Regions from separate parts of the Homo sapiens genome. Here region 2 is linked to region 1. Evidence: promoter capture Hi-C in 16 types of primary human blood cells and fetal thymus (Javierre and others, 2016). All regions are on one chromosome and are shown on one strand. The core of a region is centred on a gene start or on the middle of the fragment in contact, and the rest is flanking DNA. Distances in the headings are between cores, read along the strand shown. Region 1 holds the start of VIPR1-AS1 (VIPR1 antisense RNA 1). Region 2 has its middle 23 kb from the start of EIF1B.

The links. The method cuts DNA at HindIII sites, captures the fragments that hold promoters and counts their contacts. A CHiCAGO score of 5 or more calls a contact.
Region 2: a fragment that was not itself captured here is called in contact with the fragment with the promoter of VIPR1-AS1 in region 1 in 1 of 17 cell types (total B cells); the score reaches 6.0 in total B cells.

What each region holds. Positions count from the first base shown.
Region 1 is chr3:42,529,636-42,534,501 of GRCh38, reverse strand. It overlaps VIPR1-AS1 (VIPR1 antisense RNA 1), which reads left to right and starts at 1,896. Exons shown (of 3, transcript NR_046654.1): 1 at 1,896-1,938; 2 at 2,407-2,481; 3 at 3,544-3,606. VIPR1 (vasoactive intestinal peptide receptor 1) reads right to left here. Exons shown (of 13, transcript NM_004624.4): 7 at 3,570-3,723; 8 at 2,971-3,031; 9 at 2,633-2,699; 10 at 2,169-2,260. RefSeq lists an enhancer at 622-1,123. The HindIII fragment of the contact is 10,773 bases long and covers 1-4,866 here.
Region 2 is chr3:40,329,815-40,334,680 of GRCh38, reverse strand. No RefSeq gene overlaps it. Among named protein-coding and RNA genes, the nearest start is that of EIF1B, 23 kb to the right of the region's middle. The HindIII fragment of the contact is 3,875 bases long and covers 327-4,201 here.

The DNA of each region.
Region 1 (4,866 bases), core at 647-3,146:
TCTCAGTTTTTCCAATTTGTATAATGCAGTAAGTGTATGCTCGACATAGTCAAATTATAGAAACAGAGGCCCACTATGAACTTGGAAGTGTTTTGGGTACTATGAAGTATAGTGCATCCATGAGAGACCATGAGAGAAGACGTACTAGGAAACAAGTCTTTCTAACTGGGTGCTGACCACATATGCCCAGGGCCACTTGGGAGGGTGATGGGGACCCAAGTTCATACCTGATCACCAGGGACAACCCAAAATTAATCAGTATCGCCCTCTATCTGTGTTTTTTCTGCTGTGTCTGCTTCTCCAGAAGTTGCCACCTTCTCTGGGGTTGCATCCCCCTCCTCCTACCTCCCCACACCAGTGCATATACTCCCAGCGTGCTCTGAAGGACCAGCTCCTTCTTCACAGCTTTGTGTGCTCAGTAGGGTCAGCATTCATTCTAAATGCTCACCCGCCTCCCATGGCCCAGAGCTCTTCCTGGTTCAGGCCTCCCAGCCACCTGACCTCATAGCTGATCCAGGCAGTGTGAACCCATTGCTCCCTGGCTAGGAGAGGTGGGGTGTGGATAGGGAGGGTCTCTGACTCTGTCTCTCCTGCCTTAGCAGTCAGTCCAAGGAAGTCTAGCCCAAGGCCTGAGGTCCCACAGCAAGCTGGGGGCAGAGGAGCTGGCCTTGCCCCTCCCACTCCTTCCTGGACCTGGTTCTCAGCCATGCCAAGATCCTGAGCAATGCCCACCCCTCTTCGGCTGCAAAACTATCCCACACACCGGAGGCTAACAGATGGAGGCTTTCTTTAAATCAAAGGCTTATGGGGAGGTGTAGAGTGGGAGCTGACAGCTTCTCCTTGAGGAGCTTCATCTCCAACTGCCCCCACCCCTTTTGCCTGCTGACAACTGTTTCCTTTCTGTCTCACCACACAGACCTGGCCCTGACCATGGCCAGCTCTGTTTGCCTCAGATTCAGGCCCTTTTGAACCATTGTAAGTTGGGGGAAATAAGGTCCCATCGGCAAAGGAGAGGATAAGGGTGCACAGGCCCGATGTGCTGCCCCTCAGCAGACTGCAGATGCCCCCCCCGTCCCCCCCAGCCTTTCCTTCTCAGACAGGAAGGGAAGCTCCGCCTACACACCTGGCAGGAGAGAATGCAGTCACACCAGGAATGTGAGTCTTAGTCTCATCAGGGAGAATCACAGGATTCCAGAATAGAATCCTAAATCCAGCAGTCTGTGACATTCTAGCCAGGAATCTTAGAACCACAGCACAGACTCTCCAAAGAGAAGCCAGGCCAAGAAGAATCCCAGGACTGGAAGGCCTTGTGGGACGTCCCAGGTTTGTCTTGTGTCAATAGCACTGATACTCAATCTCCTACTCCCATCTGTGAGCATGCAGACCCTACTTGCCTTCCCACAGCCTCCCTTTTCATATTTTTCATGTTTCTTTAGCTCTGTCTTCAAGCCTTGTTGCTCCCGCAAAAAAACCTGCCTCTTCCTCCAGTCCTCCCAAGCAGGGGGAACAGTCCTGACACCTTTCCAAGCCCTGGTCCATGGACATTGTGCCCCCTTCTCCCTGCCCATGGTGACCTGCTCCAAAACCCTCAAGGAGAAGGGAGTGTATGTCATTTCCTCCCTGTAAAGTAAAGATAATTTTGCAGGGGACTGTGTGGATGAAATGACATGATGCATGGAAATCCCTTAGCGTGTGCCTGGCATGTAAACTGCAGGTGTCATCATTATTACTGAGGAATACTGAGTCCCGAACATGGCTGTCTCATTGGTGGACTGGGGTCTCCCCCAGGGCATTCATCTACTATGTGTTTATTGCACCCTTTTTCCATGTGAGGCACATGCCAGGGACTGGGCACATGGTATGAACAAGACACAGGTCATCGGTGTCCTCTTGAGCTCCCTGGCTTGGCAGCAGATGCATACCTGGGAAGGATGCTAGGTGAGTGTGGGCAGGAGAAGCATGCAGGGCTCTGAGTGCAGCCTGGTGAGGGTGGGGCTGGAGCAGGGGATGGTGGTGGGCTGAGCCAGGCCATGGTGGAGGTGGGAAAGAACAATGTGGCTCTTTGGTGACTCTGGATGTTTGGGGTGGGAGGACTTCAAGGAGATGTGGGATGATTTGAGGACTGGGGATGGAGGTACTGGGGGCTGAGGCACTAGGCCCACACTCACGAGTATGGACTGCTGTCACTCTTCCTGATATCTGGGGGCCGCAGTTTCTGAAGCAGGATTCGGATGATGCAAATAAACAGGATGAAGTTTACCTAGTGGGTGGGGACCCGAGTTCGGGCAGTCAGAGCGGGAAGGCTGAGGTGTTCAGGCCCCTTGACTGCTGGCCTGTCTTCTTTCCCAGGGTCCTGCTGCCCCTCTCTCTATCTTACCTCTCCTCTGGCATTTCCCCTTTGGGCAGGTCATCCGGGAACTCTACCTCCTTCAAATCCCTAAGGACTGTGCTCCCAATCCGCTTACGCTCAAGGAAGAACTGGTAGGACAGGGGTGGGGATGATCCTGCATTGGGCATTAGGAAGCTACGTTTCAGTTCTGACCTAGATACTAATTTCCCATGTGACCTTGGGCTAAGTTGCCTGCCCTTTGGGCCTGTTTCCCCATCTCTAGGTGGTGGGAGGGTATCTTACCAAGATGGAGGTGAGGATGGGGCCCTTTATGATCCACCACAGTGAGGAGTTGATGGTGTCCCAGCACCTGAGCAGACCGTGGGGAGGAATGAGAGGGATTGTCCTCAGCCAGAGAGAGACTCAGCAGCACCTCCCCCAGTTGTCCCCAGCTCTGCTCCTGAGCACTTTAGCAACCCCGGGCCCAGAGTCTGTTGCTCCCCAGGTCCTCCTCCAGCCTCCCCTCTGGCCCGAGAGCTGTGGTTTTTGTCCACTCACCAAGGCCAGATGGCATTATCATCCCACCCAGGGGGCCTGCCCAAGTGATGGCGGCCGGGGGAGTGTGTGGGGCAGCAGCTCACCCATAATCCTCAAAATGGATCCTGGCGATGGTCCACACCATGGTGAATGTGCTGGGTACCCCTGTCAGGCCCAGGGAGAGTGAAAGAGCAGAGAGGGCACAGGAAGCAGGGGTAGAGGGCATGAGGGAGAGATTTTGGAGAAAAGCAGGGAGAGGGAGGGAGAGAGAAAAGGGTGGGTTGTCAGTCTGCTGTCTTTGGTTGCATAGGTTGTTCACCACGGAGGGATGCTCCACTGAGGGGGTGAAGCTGTATGCCTGAAGGGCTGTGTCTACCTAGACGGACATTCTCTTTCTAATTGTGACAGAGGCCCTTTATAGATTAGCAGTGGCCCTGTGTATTTCGGGAACTAAAGGGAAATGGAAAGATGTTCACAAAATCTGTCCCACAGGTCAGCCCTAGGTGCAGCTGCAACCTGAGGGACTTGTCCTGGGATCAGACATTTTGAGGACTTTCTTGACCCTTGGCTGATATCCTTGCAGGCAGGACCTGCAGCTAAGCAAGACGTAGGACTGCAAGCTGGGTTGGCACCCTCCCCCTAGGGAGTTCTCCAGGCCTTGCCCCCTCTGTCCCCAGCCTGGAAGCCCTCCCTGGTACCATACCCCAGCCGATGAGTATGTACCCCCAGAAGTACTTCCGCTCAGAGAAGAAGGAGACGGCAAGCAGGGTGTACAGGTAGAGGCCCTCCACCAGCAGCCAGAAGAAGTTAGCCATGACACAATATTGGAAAAAGACCATGGCTGCCTTACAGCCCACCTGCAGGGGGAGGAGAAAAGACGGGGTTCACTGGGGCTGTCAAGGGTCCTTGACTGCCCACACTCGTGTCTGGGGGGACAAACACAGTTGCAGTGCAGCCAACTTAATCTCTTTGTTGTTTTGCATTATCCCCTTAAAAATGTACTCATTGGTTTTCCCATTTTCCCTAATTTTAGATCCTCTGATACTTCGGGATAAACTGGTGATTTTAATTATCCATCCATCAATTCATCTATTCACCTTCCCATCTATATATCTACCCATCTGCCCATTCAATCATCTACCCACCTATCCATGTATCCATTTATTTACCCACTCACCCACTAGACATTCACTATCAACTCACTCATTTATCCATTTTTTATCCATGTGTCCATCCATCATCTATCATCTTCCCATCTATCAATCCATCCACCCACACACCTATCTCTCCATTCTTCTACCAACCCACTCAGTCATCTACCCATCCATTCATCTCTGCACCCACCCATCAATCCACTTGTGCATCCACCCACATATCTACCTACCTGCCCCTCTGCCTATCATCTGTCCAATCTTCCTTACTTAACCCATTTATCCTGCTGCCTACTTAGCCATCCACCAACCTGCCCATCCACACTCCCACCCCACCCACTCATTCATCTAATGCCAATTTGTATTGAAGGTAGCTGGAAGGTATGAGGGAGAATTCTTGCTTGAGTTTCAAGAGTCTGCTCAATGTGGGGGAGTGGAGGGCTGTGGACTGTGGAGTGGGGCCCAGATGGAAGTGTGGAGGGAGACTGGGACTGAGAAGAGGGTGGAAGAGGGGGAAGTAGAAATGAAGAAGAAGAGAAGAGGGGAGGGGTGGCCATTCCTCCTGGGGTTCAGAGGACCGAGTGGAAGAATGGGTTTCTTAGGCAGACGAGGACCATGAAGGAGTTAGGGAGACCCATGAGTAGAGCAATCACAGGGCTCTGGGTGGCCCACTTGGCATGACTGGAAGGTATTCTGGGCCTTCTGTCCCCTCCCAGAAAGTCCCCCATTTCAGATCAAGCCTAGATGTCTGTCAGCCAGGGCTTAAAGCCACCCTCCACCAGGAAACTGTCTGGCTTCCACTTCCCCCTGTACCCAAAACATTGGTTCCCACCCTTCCTTCCTGTACCC
Region 2 (4,866 bases), core at 1,015-3,514, 2.2 Mb after region 1:
AAAAATTGGAAGCTCTAACAATACTGGCCCCACCTTCTTGCATGGAAACAGCCTCTTGAGTAGACTAGTAGCTACCTCCCAAAGAGGATACCTGCTCTCCAGGGCCCCTTAGGCCCCACTTGGGTTTGGCCTTAGATATTTGATCACATTGGCTTTTGGCTTATGGATATTTGAGTTTTAGGCCTTCACGTTTATTAAAGTTAACTTGTGTCATTATCATCAAGGTTAAGACTAAAATTGTGTCTTCGTTAGTGTTCCTCCAAAAGCTGACACTGAGACTAGGATTGGGTGCAAGTAGTTTATCTGAAAAGTGATTCCTAAAAGCTTGGTGAGAGAGAAGGGAAGTGAGTCAGAGAAGAATGAAAGCCAATACAAGGTGAATTAATGAGCTGGAGGCTAGGGCAGTCACCTGGGGCTCCCTCCTGGGGGACCTTCTGAGAGACATTCTGAGAGAAGAAGTGGAACCAATAGTTGAGGAAGCTGGGGTGTTTGTCCACCAGCTCCTGTCCCTCATTGGAACCACTCCTGGAGCATTAACTCCCTGGCACTTCCGGGCAGTCCTGCTGACTTGCCGCACATGCCCACAGCCAGAGAATGGCCTGTCAGAGACATGCAGATGTGTAGGGTAGGAAGCTGTGGGCCTGTGGGAACTGTAGGTGACTGCCAGGTGCACAGTAGGCAGGGCCCTGACAATGTCTACAGAAAGCTGATTTCATCTCATTTCCCCATCATGCCTGGCACGGAGTTAGCACTTCATAAATGTGAGTGGTTGGAAGTTCTTGGTTTTCTTATGCTTCCCCTGATTACTTCTTATCGGAAATGAGATGAAGTTAAATGGGTAATTGTATAATCCTAGTTTGTTTGAGTCTCCCTGTGTAGTTGGGGCGGGGAGGGGAGGGGAGGAATTACTGAAATCATCCATTCTTTGCCTATAGGCAGATCACAGCTTTCCTTGAGAGCACTCTTGTTGGTTCCCTGAGTACAGTGTTGGATTTAATAGTCAGGAAAGTCTATTTTTACTTGGTGATGCCTCTGGGTGTTCTTCTGCAAGGTTCTGGCCTGGGTCCAAGTTGCTGTGGCACTGATTCCCAGCAGCATGTGGCCACAAGGATAAGGCATGAGTGAATTAAAGTTTAATTAAAGGTGAAACTCCAATATGGATGGAGCTGGCTGTCTCCTGCTGGGTAATTAGTGAGGCGAGGGTTTGAAAGGGCAGCACAAAGATCCCCGCTGATGTCAGACGCTCCTCCTAGGTATGTCCTCTTGGGCAGTTTTGTGGAACACCTTTTTTCCTCCCTGGCAGTAGAATAGAAAGATGTTGTAAACTAGTAGTAGAAACAAAGAACACCAATGTGGGTGGCCTGGGGTAGCAAATGCGAGTGGCTTCTCATAGGTTCATCATCAAATCGGTTACCATGACTTGCAGGCTCCTCCTCCTGAGCCCTTCAAGCAGCCATCTGGGAAAGACCAGGTGGAAAGGCGTTCTTGGGGACAGACCTAACTTTCATGGGTGTCAATGAGCGCTTTGTCCCGTGGTCTCCCTATTCTGGTGTACGTGTGAAGTGGAGGAGGGTCAATTTCTCAGCTTCTGTCCCCTTCAGGGGGTGTACTCAGAGCTGCGTGTTAGACTTCCCTGACCATTTTATCCAGAGCAGAACCAGGCTCCAAGGACCCCAGGAAATGGAGTGCGCGGACCTTCACAGTAATATCAGCAGTGCTAACAATAACTATACCGACGAAGTTCAGCAAGCACTCACTGTGCAGAGTGCAAGCTCAGGCAGTCATGCATCATCACACTCACTCATTCACTCCTCCCCGCAACACCGCAGCTCTGCCGGCACTTGCATCTTCCTTTTCACTCTCCAGGCCTAGTGCTCTCACAAGGCCAGCTGAAACAAATCTCTGGCGTGCTCATTGCTCTGCTCTCCTCAGGGTCCCTCATGATCCCTCCTTTCAGACAGCTGCAGCTCCTACCACCAACGGCTGGATTATTTTCTTATTTCCCATCTCAAATTTCTGAAAGCAAGAACATCCCAGTCTGCTGGGACCTGAGACTTATGCAGTTTTAGAGACCCCCTTTAAGAAAGGAATAAAAGCATATGAATGAATGCAATACTAGGCTCAGGGGCAAGGAGGAGGCCTGGACAGGCGAGGCACCAGAAAGTCCCAGTGTGTTTGTTTCAGGGTGAGTCGGCCTCTGCTAGAGTCTAATAATACGTTTTTATTCTGGTGGTTGGGGTGGAGTGGGGTGACAAGCCATGGTACCAAACCCAGTTATTAAAAGCTGGTGCATTTGAGCATGGTCCCTGTCTCTGATGTTCTCCTCTCAACCACGCAAGGAGGCCCGGTCTTCCAGAGTGGACTCAGCCACCTCACCATTTCATGTGTATTCATCCAGAAACTGGGCTTGGGAGAAACTTCCCTGGGGCCTTGGGCTAAGAAGCACGCACTCCATGGAGTTCTGCAGGCAAAGGTGCAGACATGAGGTAGGGAATCGTCAGTGGTCATTTGGTGTCCCATACATTCCTTGTTCCTTGTGTGTACAGCTCCCTTAAAGATGTTATGGAGATAAGGGATGGCTGGACCCAGCCAAGTTGGGGGCATTTGTAGGGTTCATGGACCCAGGCCAAATTGTTATCTTAAAACTACTGAAATCTTTCCATGGTTCCTAACACCCATCTCTGATTATTTCCCTAGCATAGGTGCCTGAATGTGAAAAGATATGAACATTTTAAGGAGCTTGACATAAAATTTCATTTGCATGAAATTCATTCAAATTCATTCAAATGTCATTTCAGAAAGTCATACCAATTCACATTTTCTCCAAAGAGATGTGCGTTTCCACTGTACAGTGGCTTCACCAACAATGGATGCCACCATTTAAAATAATTTTATTTATTGTTTTTCTCTATCTACAAAAGTAATAATGATGTTCTTTATAAAAGTTTTAATGTTGACAGAAATATACAACTGAGAAAATGAAAGCCCTCCCATTCCTCCTATTCCCTTGGGTAACAAATGCAGAGTGGCTTCTCCTAGGTTCATCATCAAATCGGGCACCATAACTTCCAGGCTCCTCCTCCTGGGTCCCTTAAGCAGCCATTTGGGAAAGACCAGGTGCAAAAAGGTTCTTGGGCATAGACCTGACTTTCATGGGTGTCAATGAGCGTTTTGCTCCCAACTATCCAGAGATAACCCCCATAAACCGTTAGATGAATATTTATTTATGCAGATATCTTCTGCGTTTATGTTATGATGGAATTTTGGGGCTTTGTTTTTTAACCAAAATGATGTCACACCAGATATACTTCTTCAAAACTAGCGTTTTTAGTGTTCCATATGGATTTCTTCTGGGCCCTCTTTATACATTCCTAAAGAAACTCATTCATTCATGGCTTTAAAAATATTCTATGGGCTGATACCTCCTGAATTTATGTCTTCTCTGAGCTCCAGACTTACAAATCCAACTAGTTGCTTGACATCTCTGATTGGATGTCTCTTAGGCATTTAAAACTTAACATGTTCAGGGTAGGTGTGATGTCTCACACCTGTAATCCCAGCACTTTGGGAGGTTGAGGTGGGAGGAACATTTGAGCCCAGGATTTTAAGACCAGTTGGGCAACATAGTGAGACCCTGTCTCTATTAAAAAAAAAAAAATTCAACATGTTCAAAATGGAATTCTTGTTTCCACTCCTCAATCCTGTCTTTCTACCCCAGCCTCCCTCATTTTAATAATGTCACTCCCAGCCACCCAATTTCCAAAGATAAAATCCTGGAAGTCATCTTTTCCTTGCCACTTATGGCCAACACAACAGCAAGTCCTGTTAATTCTATCTCCAAGCGAGTCTCTTGTCCACCCACTTCTCTGCCTCTTTACCACCATCATTCCACGTGTAGTAGCCTCTCATTGGCCTTTTCGCCTCTGCTCTTGCTTTCTGTACGTTCCTCTCTCTGACTAACAGCCATAATCAGCTTCTTAGAATAAATCCAATTGTTCTGCTCCCATGCTTGGAACTCATCAATGCCCTCAGATAGCATTCATGCATCTTGCCATGGTCTGTGAGGCCCTGTCTAATTGGCTTGCTTCTCAGCTTCACTCCTCTCATGCCAACCTATGTCCCCATCCTGTGCTCCAATCACTCAGGTCCACTGCTTTCTCACGGGAAGACTTTGCGTTTGCCAAGCCCTCCTTCTGAAGCTTGCCACCTCCCACTCTTTGCCTGCCTAAATCCTTTTCAGTTCTCATTGATTTAACCATTCTCCTGTTGTTTCAAAATTTTCAGTGTTATAAACAATAGTGCATTGAACATCTGAATGCATTCAATTTTGTCCCACGGCTTGATTGTTTACTTGTCATAAATTCCCAGAAGTGAATTGCTAGAGGGAAGGGAATTCTTATGTTAAATTTTGGTGTGCACAACATTGTAATGTCTTCGTGATCCTGCTGATTTTCCTCCCTATATTCATCCTCCCAGGAGAAGCAGACCCCAGATGAGGGTTTCAGTGCATGTGGTTTCCCCTGTTGCCAAGCAGGAAGCCCCACTCCCTGCCTTCCAGGAGTGCAGATACCCCTTGGATGGAAGCCTGGAGGCCCCTCCAGGCCTGCCTGCAGCCCTCTGAGTCAAGGGCTTTGTAGGGGTCTGTTTGGTGACTGGTCTTCCCCACTTTCTCCTACTTCCATCTTTCACTAGAGTGTTGGAGCTGTCTTTCTAGGCTGCCTTTGGCCCCATCCTTATGATAGATAACAGAAAAATGCTGCTGTTTCAGACAGATACAGGGTACCTTTTTCTAGTTTCCAGAATGAAGGCAGGTTTTTCCATATTTTTATATTCTGTAGGCTAGTGTTTCAAACATGCCTGATCTCA